Linked DNA regions of Homo sapiens: regions 1, 2, 3, 5 and 6 are each linked to region 4. Evidence: promoter capture Hi-C in human tissues and cell types (Jung and others, 2019). All regions are on one chromosome and are shown on one strand. The core of a region is centred on a gene start or on the middle of the fragment in contact, and the rest is flanking DNA. Distances in the headings are between cores, read along the strand shown.

Region 1 (2,700 bases), core at 52-2,551, 140 kb before region 4:
CAGGGACTCAAGGAGTAAGTTCACAGCATCAGCCTAGCTCCGCAGAAGCTCAGCTGTAACCACGAGCACACAGGAGGACACGAGCCAGCCAGGGTGCTGGGTCTCACAGGTGGCCTGCTTCTGATCACCTTGTACCAGCTGCGGTCGTGCTCTGTGGCGGCGCTGTAGTACTGCAGCACTTTGGGGATTGTGCTCTCATTGATGCCCTGTAGATTCAGCTGCCACTCTCCAAGTTTCAGGAAGCATCTGGAAGCAGAGAAACAAGCCCCCATGACATTCCCTCCTCAAAACAGCCCTCCTAAGAGGACCACAAATTGTTAGGGGACACTGAAGCCCTTCTGGTATTTCCTCTTATTCTCAAGAGGCAATGTGAAGGAGCTAGCAAAATTTTCAGCCACACGCAAGAAAGGAGATGGGCTTTTGGAATACATTTTTAAGATACCATCTTTCCATCTTGACCTTTGTCTCTCAATGACAGCATAAACCATGTACCTGGTACAGATAGGTCTGTATGGACTTACCTACCCCAAACCCAATTTTTTGTGGGTGACAGTTGAGAGTTACTTCTTTATTGATTGCTATATGGCTTCTCCCTTACTTTTCCCTTTGCCTCCATTCTTTGTAATGAGATTAGCCCACATTTACTGACTGCTACTGTATTCCAAGTGCTGCTTGAAATGCTTGGCATTGTACTCTTTGCATTAATCCTCACACTACTTTATACCACCCTAGGAAATAGAAACTGTTACTATCCCTTTTATATTGGTAACTGAGGCATAGAGAGGTTAAGTCACTTCTCTGAAGTCAAATATCAAATCTGCAGCACAGAGTGGCACAGTGGCCCACACCTATAATCCCAGCATTTTGGAAGGCTGTGGAGGGAGGCTGGCTGGAGCACAGGAGTTTGAGACCAGCCTGGGCAACATTAAACTTGTAGGAGGAAATGCAGGCTCTATGCCTGTTCTTTTGTAGAGACCTCATTTCTACAAAAAACTAGCCAGTGTGGTGGCACGTGCCTATAGCTACTTGGGAAACTGAGGTGGGAGGATTGCTTAAGCCCAGGAGATCAAGGCTATACTCTAGCCTGGGTGACACAGCAAGACCATCTTAAAAAAAAAAAAGGGAGGGGCAGCATATCTGACATTTGAAAACAAGGACTCTAAAACCAGACGCCAGGAGAACAGCACATGGGTGCTCTTGGGCTGCTGAACCTAGGAAAGCAAGTGGCAGAGACTTTGAGAGCAGTATGCTTTGGTGGTTGCCTGGGATCCCTACTGGAAAAGGAAAGAGAGATGTCAGCAATCAGCCACCCAAGAAGCCTTGAACTCCTCCTTGCTGCAGAAGCTGCTGGGATGACAGGGCTGGAATATGACTTGCCCCAGGTCAGTGGGGACCTCACCGGGCCATGAGCTTGTGCAGTTCCTGCTTATGCTGCTGGTCCTCAGTAGCGATGGCATGCTGGGCCTGTTGCTGCATGGTCTGGACAAAATGCTGCATGTGCTGGAAGGCATCGATCTGTAACAGGACAAAGGCACAGAGAGCCACTTGGCTTGTGGCCCAGCTTCAGAGGAAGGGAGCTACCGTTCATCTGATAGGCATGAGTCAACCCCTCTCCAAACAGAATACCCTAGAGCACAGAATGATGACCCCATAGGACAGAGGACCAGGGCGTGATACTGGGAGAGACTGGGCTTTTCAAAAAGATTCATGACTTATTCAACTCAAGTCTTGGCTCTCCTTTGCCAACTATAATTACCAGTTTTATAAGCCTTGGCAAAGTTTCATGCCTGGCTACCCCAAATAAAAATTCCTACAAAGTAATTTGAAACAACTGCTTACTTCACTATCAATATGTTACCCTGGGGGATATTAGGCTTTTGGGAATTGTTTCAGGCTAATAAAACTTTGGTATTTGTTTACAACACCAGGGTACCTTGGACAGTCCAGCGGAGCAAAAACTATGGATTTAAAAATCATATAGCACCCAAATAAGAACACAGATTTGGAGTGAAAACCCGCATGCATTCACAGGGAATAGGGAGAAGATATTAGCTCAGCAGACATCTGGTTGAACAGGGTGACTTAGGGGCAAAATCTCCAGAGCATCCTAAAGCAGCTAGATCTATTTATACTACCGGCTTGTATACAAAGTGAGCAGAGGGCATGTGAGTCAGGAACAGACAGCTGAACTGAGGAAGGGCAGAGACAGAATCACAGATCTGGGACTACTGTACAAGCCCGCCACATCCAGTTGAACCAGCATCTTGATAAGTGCGGTCCATATCACTTTTAAAGGGAAAAACAAATCTTTTCTGGTTTTTCTAGAGGGGGGAAAACCCACAAATAGAAAAAAAAATAATAATAAAGGGCTTCAAGGATGGAGATAGAATGTACAAACATCAAAAGCTCAAATGGAAAAATGGCAAAATCTAAATGCATTAACACAGGGAAAGGAAACATTATATGAGAGAATGTGAAAAAGAGGCAATGTGTTCTGTGCTGCAGAAGAAGGAAAAAATCAAGACTTCAGATAAATAACAGTTCTCCTTATGGTAAATCATATAAGAGGTATTTTTGTTTGTTTTAAATAAAAACATGTTAGCCAGGTGCAGTGGCTCACACCTGTAATCCCAGCACTTTAGGAGGCCGAGGCGGGTGGATCACCTGAGGTCAGGAGTTCCAGACCAGCCTGGCCAACAT
Region 2 (2,700 bases), core at 170-2,669, 130 kb after region 4:
TCTCTCTACTGTCTCCTGGCTCCCAGAGTTTCTCTGAGAACTCTGCTATCCGTCTATTTGATGTTCCTTTTTAGGTAATCTCTCTTTTATCTTTGGCTGCTTTGAAGGTTTTCTCTTTGTCTATGATGTTCCATGGTTTTGCTATGGTGTTTTTAGGTGGAGATCTCTTTTAATTTATCCTGCTTGAGATTCATTGAGCTTTCTGAAGTTTAGAGTAATAGTTCTGGAAAATTCTCAGCTATCTTCTCTTTGAATTTGACTCTCCACTGTTACCTCTGATATCTCCTTCTGGAACTCTGATTAGACACATACTCGATCTTCTCATTTCATCCCCACCTCTCTTAATCTCTCTTTTATATCTTCCATTTGTTTGTCTCCCTCTGCTACCTTCTGAGAAATGTATTTATTTTTTATTTTTTGAGACAGAGTTTTGCTCTGTTGCCCAGGCTGAAGTGCAGTGGCATGATCTCGGCTCACTGCAACCTCCGTCTCTTGGGTTCAAGTGATTCTTCTGCCTCAGCCTCCTGAGTAGCTAGGACTACAGGCGTGTGCCACCACGCACAGCTACTTTTTTCGTAATTTTCATAGAGACAGGGGCCTGGGGAGTGTGGTTTTGCCATGTGGCCAGGCTGGTTTTGAACTCCTGGCCTCAAGTGATCCACCCACCTCGACCTCCCACAGGGCTGGAATTACAGGCGTGAGCCACTGTGCCAGGCAAGAAATGTATTTTTATGTCTTTTCCAGTTCACTAATTCTCTCCTCAGCTGTCTCATCTTCTGTTTCATTCATGAAGTTTCTACTTTCAATTATTAAACTTCTCATCTCTAGATATTTTATTGGACTCTTTTTCAAATCAATCTGGTAATTTTTCATAATCTCATTTTCCTTTGTCATACTTTTGCTATCCACTTTTACGTTTTAAAATCCTTGCATGTTTATTTTATATGCAATGTCTGATAATTCAACATTGGCCACCTGTGCATGTCTGGTTTGCAGTTGCTGTTTTTGGTGGCCCCTGCTCACAGTAGCTTGTTTCCTGTGTGTTTTGACTTTTTCTCTACTGTGCACTTTCTTGGAACTTGTTTTCTACAGGAATTCGTGGAGGCCTGGCCTTAGGGCTGTTTCTTCAGAGAAGATTGGTGTATATTTCTGCCAGGTGCTGCTGTTAACGGTGGGCTGATTTTCTGCTTGTGGTTTTTTAGGCCGCATAAGTAGAATGAATTCTGGCCCCACGCCCACATAAGGGCAAGCTGGTGGTTAAGATTCTCAGGAAGGAAGACTTTTTCTTTTTTTTTTTCTGGTTTTTATTTTTCCCTTCCCACCAGAGCCAAGGCAGGCTTTTCTAGTTCATGTTCGGAAGACCTTGCTTTATGTGTGGTTGGTGATATGGTTTGGCTCTGTGTCCCCACCCAAATCTTATCCTGTAGCTCCCATAATCCCCACAAGTTGTGGGAGGGAGCCAGCGGGAGATGATTGAATCAGGGGGCGTGTCTTTCCCGTGCTGTTCTGGTGATAGTGAATGGGTCTCACGAGATCTGACGGTTTTTAAAAACGGGAGTTTCCCTGCACAAGCTCTCCTTTTGCCTGCTGCCATCCACGAAAAATGTGACTTGCTCCTCCTTCCGCCATGATTGTAAGGCCTCCCAGCCATGTGGAACTGTAAGTCTGATAAACCTCTTTCTTTTGTAAATTGCCCAGTCTCAGGCATGTCTTTGTCAGCAGCATGAAAACGGACTAATACAGTTGGCAAATTTCATCTCCCACCTTGCCCAGACCGGCTTTGTTTCTTGCTGTTATAACACAGAGCATCAAAGGCCAGGCTTTCGGCTGACCAGATGCCCCCGTGGAAGTGCTGGCTTCAGTGCCAGCTCACTCACTTCTCTGGAGTTGCATTCTTGCAACTTTGAAGGTTTTCTTTACTTTCCCACAAACCTATCCATGCATTAAAAAGCATTTTAAATGCTTCATCCAGCAATTTCAGAGGTCCTGTATTGGGAAAGTATCTCCAGAACTTAGCCATAGGGCCCAGTTTTATTTATCCTTCATTCATTCACTTATTCATGTCACAAACACTTCCTTGAGTACCTACTAGGGGCCAAGTCCTGGGTTAGCCAAAGAGGATGTAGAGATCCATTAAGACACGGTCCCCCTTGGGGAGCTCAGCACGAAGGCCCTTAAAATGTGACTCGATGGTGTTGGCAGAAATAATTCAAATTATAGGCACACCTCGTTTTATTGCACTTAGCTTTCTTGGGTTTTGCGGATATTGCCTTTTATTTTTATTTTATTTTTTTAACAAATTGAGGGCTTCTGGCAACCCTGCATTGAGCAAGTCTATTGGCGCCATTTTTTCCAACAGCATGAGCTCAGTTCACGTCTCTCCATAATCTTCACAATCTTTGAAACTTTTTCATTATTATTATCTCTGTTATGGTGATCTGCGATCTTTGACATTACTATTGTAATTGTTTTGGGGTGCCACAAACTGTGCCCATAGAAGATGGCAAACTTAATAAATGTTGTGTGTGTTCCCAGTGCCCCCTTCTCTCTCTCTTCAGGCCTCCTGATTCTCAGAGACACAATAATATTGCAATTAGGCCAATTAATAGTCCTACAGTGGCCTCTAAGTATTCAAGTGAAAGGAAGAGTCACACGTCTCCCACTTTACATCAAAAGCTAGAAATGATTAAGCTTAGTGAG
Region 3 (2,700 bases), core at 145-2,644, 210 kb before region 4:
CACCACCTGCCAGGCCCTCTGCCATCTGGTTTTCCTACTGAACCCTCCCCGACCAGGTGTTTTCCAGATGGAGAAACAGGCCCTACCTGCCTTGCTCGGGGGTGTGCAGCCATTTCAGGGCACAGCTGGCCGCTGGGAGAACCAGGACTCAAACCTGGCTCTACGCCGGCACTCACCTCGTCGATCTCACACTGGACCACGGACTCCACGGAGGGGTGCTTCACCACCTCCCGCAGGACACCTCCATCTCCGCCCCCGATGATCAGCACCTGGGAGGAGGGGGCAGTCAAGGCAGGGGCCCTGGCAGGACTGGGAGCCCCCAGGCCCCTGAAGCAGACCCCCTGACCCCTCGGACCCACGGGCCTCATCTTTTTCTACCCTCGGAAACGCTTTCGTGCCGGTGTCCCCTTTCCTGGAAGTTCCTTCCAGGGCTGCCCTAGGATTCCGAGGCCGCGTCAGTGTCGGCCCCCACCCCTCCGCGGGACGCCCCTGGCCTCGCTAGCACTTTCTCTGACAACCATGCAGGCAGCATCTGGGAAGAGCCCGGAGCACACCTGGGGCCGCCCCTCGTCCGGCACTGTTCCAGGGGACACTGGGGTACCTTTCGCGGGTTGGGGTGGCTGCAGAGAGGCAGGTTGGCGATCATCTCCTGGTAGGAGAACTCGTCTCTCTCCGTGCACTGGATGACACCGTCCAACACCAGCACGTTGCCATAGGTCTTACTGCGGGCGGAGTGACAGTCGGGGACCTGGGTTCTCTGGGGTGGGGAAAACGTACCCCAAGCCGCCCTGGGTGAGGAGGGTCTCCCCATCCCGCCTAGGGGTCCCAGGGATGAGGAGCGATGGTGACACGTGGCGAGGAACGGCAGGCGGGCCGCCGGGTGGAGGCCGGGGTGGGACCCGGGGTCTCCTCGGGCTCTGACGTGTCCTGAGGGCTGACACGTGGAGCGGGGCGCAGACTCCGACTCCCCCACCCAAGAGGCCAGCCCGCAGTCCCAGCCCCAGCCCAGGGAGGCGGTGTGAGGGGTGGCGAGGGGGCCAGGGCAGGACGAGGTCCAGCCCGCTTGGGTCCCGGCGTGGAGAGGCCCGTGAGGCGGGCAGCAGGCGGCCCGGGCTGAGCCTAGGGGGCAGGCGCCTGCGGGCAGCGGCGGTACCTGCGGAAGACGAGGATGTCCTGGTAGCGCGAGCGCCGGTGGTGGAGCAGCTGCTCCACCTGCAGTGACAGGGCCTGGCCGGGCCACAGGCTGCAGGTCTCGCGGAACCAGCCCTCGCGGATGGCGGCGGGGCCGGAGGCGGCGGGGCCGTCGGGGCCGGGCTCCATGGCGGGCGGGCGGGCGGCGCGGGGCGCGGGCCCGGGACTGCAGGCCGCGCGGCGCCGCAGCACAACGGGACCAGCTCCGCCCGCCGCCCGCGCCGCAACCTAACCCGGGCGCGGGGCGGGGCCTGCCGGCGGGGGCGGAGCCCGCGCTCGCCAATGGCAAAGCGGCCTCGCCTGGCGCTCATTGGCCACCGGCTCGCAGAGCGGCGCAGAGTGGCTGTGGCGCGCCGTCCGTCGGCGGCAGCAGGGTAGTGCGGCCCGCTCCAGGGGCCACGTGGGGCCCGGCCGGGGCCGGGCGGCCGGGTCGGGTTCCGGGGCGGGCTGGGCCGGCGGAAGGGGTCCGGGTCCTTCCTCCGCCCCAAGCAGCCGGGGCGGTGCACCACCGGCCCCCGCTTCCTTCTCGGGGTTGGGAGGCACCGAGGGCCTCGAGGGGCTGCGGGACTCGGGCTTGGTGTGGAGGGCAAGAGCGCTGCGACGTGCGGACTGGAGAGTCAGCCTTTGGGCTGGAGACACGGGAGCGGGTGGCTACAGTGGTTTACGTTGTTGCACGGGGCGAGTAGAACGTATCCTTCTTTGCGTCCAAAATCTGGTTCCTTGTTGGATTTGAACAGATTATGTGGCTCGTCGGGGCGAACCGAGGGTTTTTATTTACTTGGAAAGAATCATCACAGCCCGCGAATTCACAAGCTGGATTTAGCCATTTTCCCTTAGATTCTGCGCCATGAGCCTATAGGCTGTTGAATACGAGAGAAGTGCTTTTCTAAACGAGTTTCTAAATTTACCAGCAGTGTCCAGGAAGAGGCCCAGAACATACATATTCAGCACCAGAAAAGACTGGCACGCAATTTTTCTTGACAAACTGGGTCTTGCTCTTTGAAGGGTGGGTGGGAATGTGCTGTTTTTATGAGAATGTCAAAGAACTTCTCAGAATCACATTAAGCATGCTAATTACCAAATATTAAATGCTAATTGTTCCACACGCAGTTCGAATGCCAAGGAAGGAAGATGAAACTAGTATAAGCTACTCTTGACATTATGTCAGGGATGGTTTTGACACGTTTTGCAGCCTCCACCTGGAGGTGGGGAACGTTTCCTGTGTCGTCCCCAGAGCAGAGTAACAGCGTTGTTTATGGGTGAGAGCAAGCCTCAAGCCTAGGCAACAATGTGCCTTGCTTGCTTTTAAGCTCCTTCTAAAGGGGAGGTAAACCAAGACCGCTAAAGAATTGCTAGGTGCCTGGGCGTGATGGTTCACCCCGGTAATCCCAGCACTGTGGGAGGCGGAGGCGGAGGCGGGCGGATCACGAGGTCAAGAGATCAAGACGATCCTGGCCAACATGGTGAAACCCCGTCTGTACTAAAAATACAAAAATTAGCTGGGCATGG
Region 4 (2,700 bases), core at 152-2,651:
GGTCCCAATTGATCAATGAGCATAGTTCAGACATGAATGTTGGTTGATATTTTATGTTAGGAGTAAGAGGAAAGTGAAACAATCAAAAGAGATATGTCAGAACTTCACTAGTTTGTCAAGGCTACAAGCGACTTATTTGTTCAACTGGATAATAATTTGCCAATGCTGAACGAATATTTCCTCAAAGTTTTGGTGCATTCACTTACACACTTTTTTTCTCTCTTTTTTTTCTTTTTTGAGACGGAGTCTCGCTCTACTGCCCAGGCTGGAGTGCAGTGGCGTGATCTTGGCTCACTGCAGCCTCTGCCTCCAGGGTTCAAGCAATTCTCCTGCCTCAGCCTCCCGAGTAGCTGTGATTACAGGAATGCACCACCACCCCCGGCTAATTTTTTTTTTTTTTTTGAGATGGAGTCTCACTCTGTTGCCCAGGCTGGAGCCCATTGGCATGATCTTGGCTCACTGCAACCTCCATCTCCCGGGTTCAAGCAATTCTCCTGCCCCAGCCTCCCGAGTAGCTGGGATTACAGGTGCCTGCCACCACGCACGGCTAATTTTTGTATTTTTAGTAGAGACAGGGTTTCGCTATGTTGGCCAGGCTGATGTCGAACTCCTGACATCAAGTGATCCGCCTGCCTCGGCCTTCCAAAGTGCTGGGATTACAGGCGTGAGCCACCGCACCCTCCAACACTTTTAAGTTTAACCAGTAATATGAACATTTTCTCCGCCACTTTCTTAAGTCTAGACGACTTAGCAGTTATTAAGCATTTGCTGATTTGCGTGGTGTAAATTCTCCCACCATGGGCAGATTTCAAGCTGCTGAAGGATGTCACTGAATGAAAAGCTGATAAGAGGTGAGCAGTAGCACATCATAGAGTATTTCCACGGTGCAGATATGATAGACGTCAGAATGTATGCACACAGCAGGCGCTCAATAAATGCTTGTAGCATGAATAAATTAATGAATCCTACTTCGTGAATGAAAGTGCGCCCGGTAAGTCCTAAAGCAACACGCCTTCGAGTTCTTATGATGCTAAGAGAGGCTGATTGCAGTTAGTCTGGAAGTAGCTGCGGGGCGCAGTGCAGGCAGGAAAAGGGCTGGATGCCGGGTCACCGCCCGGCCCCAGCTCCTGGCCCGTCCCCGCTCCCGGTCCATTCCCGCCCCGGCCCCGCCCCCTCCCGCCCCACCACCGGTCTGGCCCCGCCCCTCAGCCCCGCCCCACCCCTCACCGCCCTTCTCCCCGCCTCTGACCCCGCCCCTCCTCTGACTCGGCCCTGCCCGCCCCGCCTCTGACCAGGCCCCCGCCCCCCACCCCTCACCGCCCTTCTCCCCGCCTCTGGCTCGGCCCCGCCCCCTCCCGCCCTCCAGCCCACCCTCCGGTCCAGCCCGCGCCGCCGGCACCTGTTTCCGGGCGGGCCTCCAGAGGCCGGCGCACAAGATGGCGGCTCTGGCGGCCTAAAGAAGGCGGCCGCGGCTCAGCCGTGGGCTCTAACGCGGGGCTGGGGGCCGGAGACAGACTTCGCCCAGGTGACGGGTAGTAGGGGCGGCGCCGCTTGGCCTCGTGGGGTGTAAGACCCACTTGCTGTTGCCCCCGGACCTTGCCGCCACACCAGCCCTGTCCTGGGGCGGAACCGAAGGAAGGTCGGGCCCTGCTGCCCCGCCCCGTCCTTCCTCCTTCCCGGGCGGTCACTGTGCGTGGCTCACTTTTAGAGTTTACTTCAACCACGTGGAGCTTCCATGGCGGCCTCTCAGGTCCTGGGGGAGAAGATTAACATCCTGTCGGGAGAGACTGTCAAAGCTGGGGACAGGGACCCGCTGGGGAACGACTGTCCCGAGCAAGATAGGCTCCCCCAGCGCTCCTGGAGGCAGAAGTGTGCCTCCTACGTGTTGGCCCTGAGGCCCTGGAGCTTCAGTGCCTCACTCACACCGGTGGCCCTGGGCAGTGCCCTTGCCTACAGATCCCACGGTGTCCTGGATCCCAGGCTCTTGGTGGGTTGTGCCGTGGCTGTCCTGGCTGTGCACGGGGCCGGTAATTTGGTCAACACTTACTATGACTTTTCCAAGGGCATTGACCACAAAAAGAGTGATGACAGGACACTTGTGGACCGAATCTTGGAGCCGCAGGATGTCGTCCGGTTCGGAGTCTTCCTCTACACGTTGGGCTGCGTCTGTGCCGCTTGCCTCTACTACCTGTCCCCTCTGAAACTGGAGCACTTGGCTCTTATCTACTTTGGAGGCCTGTCTGGCTCCTTTCTCTACACAGGAGGTAAGATTTGGCCTGTCCTGTGTGCTGCAGGTCTTAGTCGCGTCCACTGGAAACCGCTGCTTTGTAAAGGAGTTATAGGGATGTCAAAGGTGGCTTTCTAATTTAAGCCGCTTTAATTGAAGTCTATAATTGTGGGTGATGTGAATTTTTTGAAACAGTGATTTGAGAAGATCCTGGTTTGACTTACGGACGTAGGGCATGACTGAAAATTTTATATGGACATTTATTTTTATTTATTTTTTATGTATTCATTTTTGAGACGGAGTCTCGCTCTGTCGCCCAGGCTGGAGTGCAGTGGTGCGATCTCGGCCCACTGCAGCCTCTGCCTCCCGTGTTCAAGCGATTCTCCTGCCTCAGCCTCCCGAGTAGCTGGGACTACAGGTGCACGCCACCACGCCTGGCTGATTTTTGTATTTTTATTAGAGACGGGGTGTCA
Region 5 (2,700 bases), core at 92-2,591, 190 kb before region 4:
AAAGTACAGATGACAGAATCTGGGACATTTTCTTCCCTTGCAAGTAGATGCTATAAGGCTCAGAGACTTAAAATAAACTCAAACTAAGGCATAATCATTGAAATGATTCCAGTTCAGAAGTTTTAGTGCTTAAATGGCAGCCTGAGGGCAGAAATTCTATATTCCTTCAACTTGCTACCTTCCAAGCTTGGAGCATTAATCTCTGAGTAAGCAGCCTTGGGTAATAGCAACCAGAAAAGCTTGATTTTGAAGAACATCAGATCTACTGAGAAAGTCAGAACATATTAATCAGATTTGAAACTCACTTAGGCAGTTCTTCAGCTATTTTCAGCATCATGTGGTTTGGCAGTACATATCTGGAAAAAAAAAAACACACACACACACACACACACACACACACACACACACACACGGTGGGGACACATTACATTCAGCCAGTAAGTTCCATTAGATGCTGTCACATAGGGGAAATAACCAGCTTTCATAGCAAAAGAAAAAAGCCCATTATTTACTTGTTATTAGATCTCCTCAGTCTGGAAACAAGTATTAAAAGAACCTCTAATCCCTTACCCGTAACTTTCATCTTCCCTGCGAGCTGTTTTATCCCTCCAGGCAAACAGCAGCTGAAAGGCTGTCAACTGCTGTGTGTTAAGGTGCTTCTTCTGCTTCCTATAGAGTTCAAGGTAGGACTCATCCGTGAAGATAGGTTTGATGAATTTCTACAAAGTATTAGAGAACATTCAAAATCAACGGGAATCAAAATTGTGCCCTGGGCTCTGGAAAATGTTTGGCTCTTTTCATGAATGTAAGGAGCAAACCTAAGAACTAGAACCTGGCCAGACACAGAGCCCAAGTGTCGCGGTCTGTGTGACTGCGGCTGAGGTGTACCTTGAGGCAGATGTCCCTGCTCCGTTGCCACACCACCTGCAGCTGCACCGGCTGCCCGTTGCCGCGCTCCCACATCTCCAGCCTCATTTTGTCATAGATATATAGCAGGTAATGGGTGTCATCCCGGGCGTAGCTGAGCATCTCCTCGGGCAGAGGGCTGGAATTGCAGAGGACAATGTTTTACTGATTGCCCCCAAGGACAGCAATTCAATTTGTCTATTCCTTGGGTGCTGGGACTTCCTTAGACCCTTCCAATATGAAAGATCCTTTCATAGTCAATACTGCAGTTATGCCAACATTTCCTGCATTTTAACATGATAAACCATTATTTTAACAGCTGGGTAGAATTGGAGGCAGGGTAATGCGGTGGTTAAAATAAGGGCACTGTCAGCTACTCTGGACACACACAAGAGGCAGTAGAAAAGGGGCCACTGGTGTCCTGAGTTCAAATCTCAGCTCCAGATGTCTGTCCTTGGACAAGTTCCTTAACCTCTTTGGGCTGACCCACCTAACTTGTGAAATGGGAACCAGGTACTTCATAGGCTGTTGTGAGGACTACACAGGACCACATCCTTGAAGCACTTAGCCCAGAGCTTGGCACAGGGTAAGGGCTCCGTAACAGGGAGTGGTTTTTAGATTTTATCAATTTTTATCTTTTATTTGGATTTTATCAGTCCAAATGTAATTTTACTTTTATATTTAGAAATTCTGGCATTCTGGGCCAGGCGCGGTGGCTCACGCCTGTAATCCCAGCACTTTGGGAGGCGGAGGCGGGAGGATCACCTGAGGTCAGGAGTTTGAGACCAGTCTGACCAACATGGAGAAACCTCGTCTCTACTGGAAATACAAAATTAGCTGGGCGTGGTGGTGCACGCCTGTAATCCTAGCTACTCAGGAGGCTGAGGCAGGAGAATTGCTTGAACCCGGGAGGCAGAGGTTGTGGTGAGCCGAGATCGCGCCATTGCACTCCAGCCTGGGCAACAGTGAAACTGCATCTCAAAAAAAAAAAAAGAAAAAAAGAAATTCTGGCATTCTGGCATGTGGAATTCCTGAAAAAGCTCAGTAGCACCTTCCTATGACAGGTGCAACCTCGGAGAGGTAGCAACCAAGCGGAAAACGACCAAGCTGAGCAAGGCCTGCAGGAAGTGGGGCAAAACTGCTACCTTATGCCACAAAAAAACGCTCAGTGTAAAGCTAAACAACAGTGTCCCTTAGAATTCTTTCCCACCTATGGAAGGTCATCTTGCACACACACACACACACACAATCATCCCTACAGAAGATCTTACACACACACAAAATCATCTGGTAGAAAGATCCCAGTTTCAAACAAAAGACCAGCATGGGCAAATACTGGTGCGGCACCTCTTTTTCAACCACTATTTCCATGGAACACAGTGTAACTGCATCAGCCCATCATAAAGTCCACCTTAGCATTAAAAAATTTCCTACCACTTTTACGCTGCTGAAGATGCCTGGCGAAAAGCCTGATGCCATTCATCTCAATGAGCGTGGTAGGGCTCAAACCCAGGTCTCTCTGGACGACAGGTTAATGAATAATCACTTTCTTCTGCCACCCACATTTCCTCAGTAAGAGCAAACTGACCGTATTCTCCAATCAGCCAGCTGATATTGCTTGTTTGAGTCCACGTTGCAGTAGAGTTTCAGGAGATGATCGAGTGAGTGCCTGCCCAGGTTAAGAAGGCGTGCTGCCTGATGAGTATCAAACATGTTTACTACATACAACCCAAAGTCTTTCTGTAGCCATTCTATGTCTGAATCAGCACCATGAAAGACCTGAAAACAGAACCA
Region 6 (2,700 bases), core at 126-2,625, 220 kb after region 4:
TCTCTACTAAAAATACAAAAAATTAGCCGGGCGTAGTGGCGGGCGCCTGTAGTCCCAGCTACTTGGGAGGCTGAGGCAGGAGAATGGCGTGAACCCGGGAGGCGGAGCTTGCAGTGAGCCGAGATCCCGCCACTGCACTCCAGCCTGGGCGACAGAGCGAGACTCCGTCTCAAAAAAAAAAAAAAAAAAAAAAAGAAGTTAATAATCGTACTAGCTGCTCTGGTTCAGCAGGGGAGCAGTATCACCATCCCCATTTTACAGATTTCCCTCTTGGTGTTAGGGGGTCGGGTTCTGTCCCACTGAGCCCACTAGAGAGGGGACACCAGAACAGGAAAAGTGATAGTGGCTGTTGTGCCCATGAACGTTGGATCCCTCTGGTGTTGGCTGGGACGTTTCCTCAGGTGATATATTGACCCAGGCAAAGCTTGTTTGCCTGATAAATATTGAGCCATTGGGTTTTTCGAGTCAGCGCCCATAGTTTCCTCACCAGCTGTCAGCCCCAGGAGGCCAGTCATCCTTCATCCACTCCATCTGTGCAGCCTGACCTTCTCTGAGAAATGGGGGGCTTGGACAGGCTCGCCACAGAGCCCCCACCCGATTCCTCTCCCCACCCCCACCTGGGCTTCTAATAATAAGCCCAGATTTTCTTTGCAGAGAGGAATGGTCATTTGTACCCCCTCTGAATTTCCGGCTGGCAAATTGAGCCAACAAAGATCGTGTTTCTTAGGGGGCAGCAGGGGTGATGGGGAGTAGAGGTAGGTGCTTGCTTCAGCTGCAGCCACAAAGCCAGGTTTCCCTGGGGCTGGGGCAGGAGATATGGGGTGATAGATTCAGGATCTTCTTGCTGGGGAAAGAGCTCAGACAAGTGTGGAAAGTCACTCAGCCATACCCCTTCCTCTATGGATCTGGAAGGCATTCCCTGGCTCTGTTGCCGTGTTCATTTGAGATTCTAGGTAGGACTTGGAACATCTTCAGAGAAGACTCTGGGAGGGCCCTAGGATCCAGCTGCTAGGATGGGGCTCCCTGCTTCACTCCTACTTTCTCTCTGGGATGCTTCACGGCCCCATTGTATTAGGGTTCTCCAGAAGAAAATAACCAATAGCATATATATATCAGAGAGAGATTTATTAGAAGGAATTGGCTTATGTGATTATGGAGGCTGAGAAGCCCCAAGATCTGCAGGCAGCAAGCTGGAGACCCAGGAGAGCTGATGGTATAGTTGCAGTTTGAGACTGAAGGCCTGAGAACCAGGAGGGCCAATGGTGTAAGTTCTAGTCTGATAGCTGGCAGGCTGAAGACCCAAGAAGAGCTGATATTTCAGCTTGAGTCCAAAGGCCAGAAAAGACCAATGTCCAAGCTCTAGCAGTCAACAAAAACAATTTCCTCTTAGCCTTTTCATTCTATTCAGATCTTCAACTGATTCGTTGAGGCCCACCCTCATTAGTGAGAACCATCTGCTTTACTCTGTGTACTGATGCTGATCTTATCTGGAGGCTGGGCTTGGTGGCTCACTCCTGTAATCCTAGCACTTTGGGAGGCGGAGGTGGGCGGATCACTTGAGGTAGGAGTTCAAGACCAGCCTGGCCAACATGGCGAAACCCCGTCTCTACTAAAAATACAAAAATTAGCCAGGCATGGTGGCATGCACCTGTAATCCCAGCTACTTGGGAGGCTGAGACAGGAGAATCATTTGAACCTCAGAGGTGGAGGTTGCAGTGAGCTGAGATCATGCCACCACACTCAAGCCTGGGCAACAGAGCAAGACTCCATCTCAAAAAAAAAAAAATCTTATCTGGAAACACACTCTCTCTCTCACACACACACCCAGAATCATGTTTGGCCAAATATCTGGGCACCCCATAGTCCAGTCAAGTTGACACATAGAATTAACCATCACACCCATGACCCATTGAAGGGAAAGCCAAGCTTCTGAGGTTGGTGGGAGACTTCCTTTACATCATGCCCTGAGTTGCCACCTGCTGAAAGCAGAATTGCCAGGCCCCGAGTGATCTGTGGTCTTATGGGGATGGGGCAAACTTGCTAAAAGGCAATGGGTTTCTTCAACAAGTACTGACATATCAGCTCTCAAAGAGCTCATAGGCTACCTGGTATGGCCAAAAGAGCCTGGGCTTTAGGATCAATAGACCTGGGGTTCAAACTCCAGTTCTGCCCCTTAGTAGCTGTGTGACCACCAGGGAGTCACTTAACCTCTCTGATTCTGATTTTGCTTCTGTAAAAAGTGAATGCTCATAATGCCTTCCCTAGCGTCCTTGCAGGGCTGATGTGAGGATGACAGAGGATGGATAAGGAGTACTGGCACGTGGTAGATGCAGAGTTAATTATTATGATGGTCTTAATGGGTGTCAGAGTTTCTGCATTGAACTAGCTGGGCTGAACTAGCTGGGCTTTTGACTGCACTCCATGTGTGTGATTTTGCCCGTTTCACCACCACATCTCCAGTGCCTCTCCAGCCTCCTGGCCTAGGTGGAGTGTCCAGGTCTCGGGGAAAGGTTTGGGATTCTGATGACTGGCACATAGCCAGGACATCCGGAGAGCGGTGGATTCTCAGAAGACGGAGTATCAGGACGTAGGACAGTGATGCCTGGGAGGCACCAAGGCCTCCTCTTTTCTTTCCTCCCTTCTCTGGAGCTGTTCAACTCAAAATAACTCATTTTGAGCTTCTGCCCAAAACTCTCGACC

Evidence for each region. The method cuts DNA at HindIII sites, captures the fragments that hold promoters and counts their contacts. A contact is called where the count stands out against the background at its distance.
Region 1: a contact is called between a fragment that was not itself captured here and the fragment with the promoter of UBIAD1 in region 4, in 1 of the 25 tissues and cell types used here (mesendoderm cells).
Region 2: a fragment that was not itself captured here is called in contact with the fragment with the promoter of UBIAD1 in region 4 in 1 of the 25 tissues and cell types used here (neural progenitor cells).
Region 3: a contact is called between the fragment with the promoter of SRM here and the fragment with the promoter of UBIAD1 in region 4, in 1 of the 25 tissues and cell types used here (heart left ventricle).
Region 5: a contact is called between a fragment that was not itself captured here and the fragment with the promoter of UBIAD1 in region 4, in 1 of the 25 tissues and cell types used here (liver).
Region 6: a fragment that was not itself captured here is called in contact with the fragment with the promoter of UBIAD1 in region 4 in 8 of the 25 tissues and cell types used here (H1 embryonic stem cells, IMR-90 fibroblasts, aorta and 5 more).

Annotation. Positions count from the first base shown.
Region 1 is chr1:11,132,952-11,135,651 of GRCh38, forward strand. It overlaps MTOR (mechanistic target of rapamycin kinase), which reads right to left. Exons shown (of 58, transcript NM_004958.4): 37 at 1,400-1,515; 38 at 129-246. Among named protein-coding and RNA genes, the nearest start is that of MTOR-AS1, 9.6 kb to the right of the region's middle. The HindIII fragment of the contact is 7,755 bases long and covers 1-2,700 here.
Region 2 is chr1:11,406,328-11,409,027 of GRCh38, forward strand. No RefSeq gene overlaps it. Among named protein-coding and RNA genes, the nearest start is that of DISP3, 71 kb to the right of the region's middle. The HindIII fragment of the contact is 3,403 bases long and covers 1-2,700 here.
Region 3 is chr1:11,058,624-11,061,323 of GRCh38, forward strand. It overlaps SRM (spermidine synthase), which reads right to left and starts at 1,395. Exons shown (of 8, transcript NM_003132.3): 1 at 1,154-1,395; 2 at 602-722; 3 at 177-269. The coding sequence starts at 1,320. RefSeq lists silencers at 915-1,104, 1,315-1,844. The HindIII fragment of the contact is 6,396 bases long and covers 1-2,700 here.
Region 4 is chr1:11,271,797-11,274,496 of GRCh38, forward strand. UBIAD1 (UbiA prenyltransferase domain containing 1) reads left to right here and starts at 1,402. Exons shown (of 2, transcript NM_013319.3): 1 at 1,402-2,264. The coding sequence starts at 1,736. RefSeq lists silencers at 981-1,250, 1,311-1,360 and enhancers at 1,361-1,530, 1,621-1,670. The HindIII fragment of the contact is 12,769 bases long and covers 1-2,700 here.
Region 5 is chr1:11,080,194-11,082,893 of GRCh38, forward strand. It overlaps EXOSC10 (exosome component 10), which reads right to left. Exons shown (of 25, transcript NM_001001998.3): 10 at 2,495-2,685; 11 at 889-1,045; 12 at 571-719; 13 at 306-356. Among named protein-coding and RNA genes, the nearest start is that of EXOSC10-AS1, 18 kb to the right of the region's middle. The HindIII fragment of the contact is 3,356 bases long and covers 1-2,700 here.
Region 6 is chr1:11,491,951-11,494,650 of GRCh38, forward strand. All of the region lies in intron 1 of DISP3 (dispatched RND transporter family member 3), which reads left to right. Among named protein-coding and RNA genes, the nearest start is that of DISP3, 14 kb to the left of the region's middle. The HindIII fragment of the contact is 6,238 bases long and covers 1-2,700 here.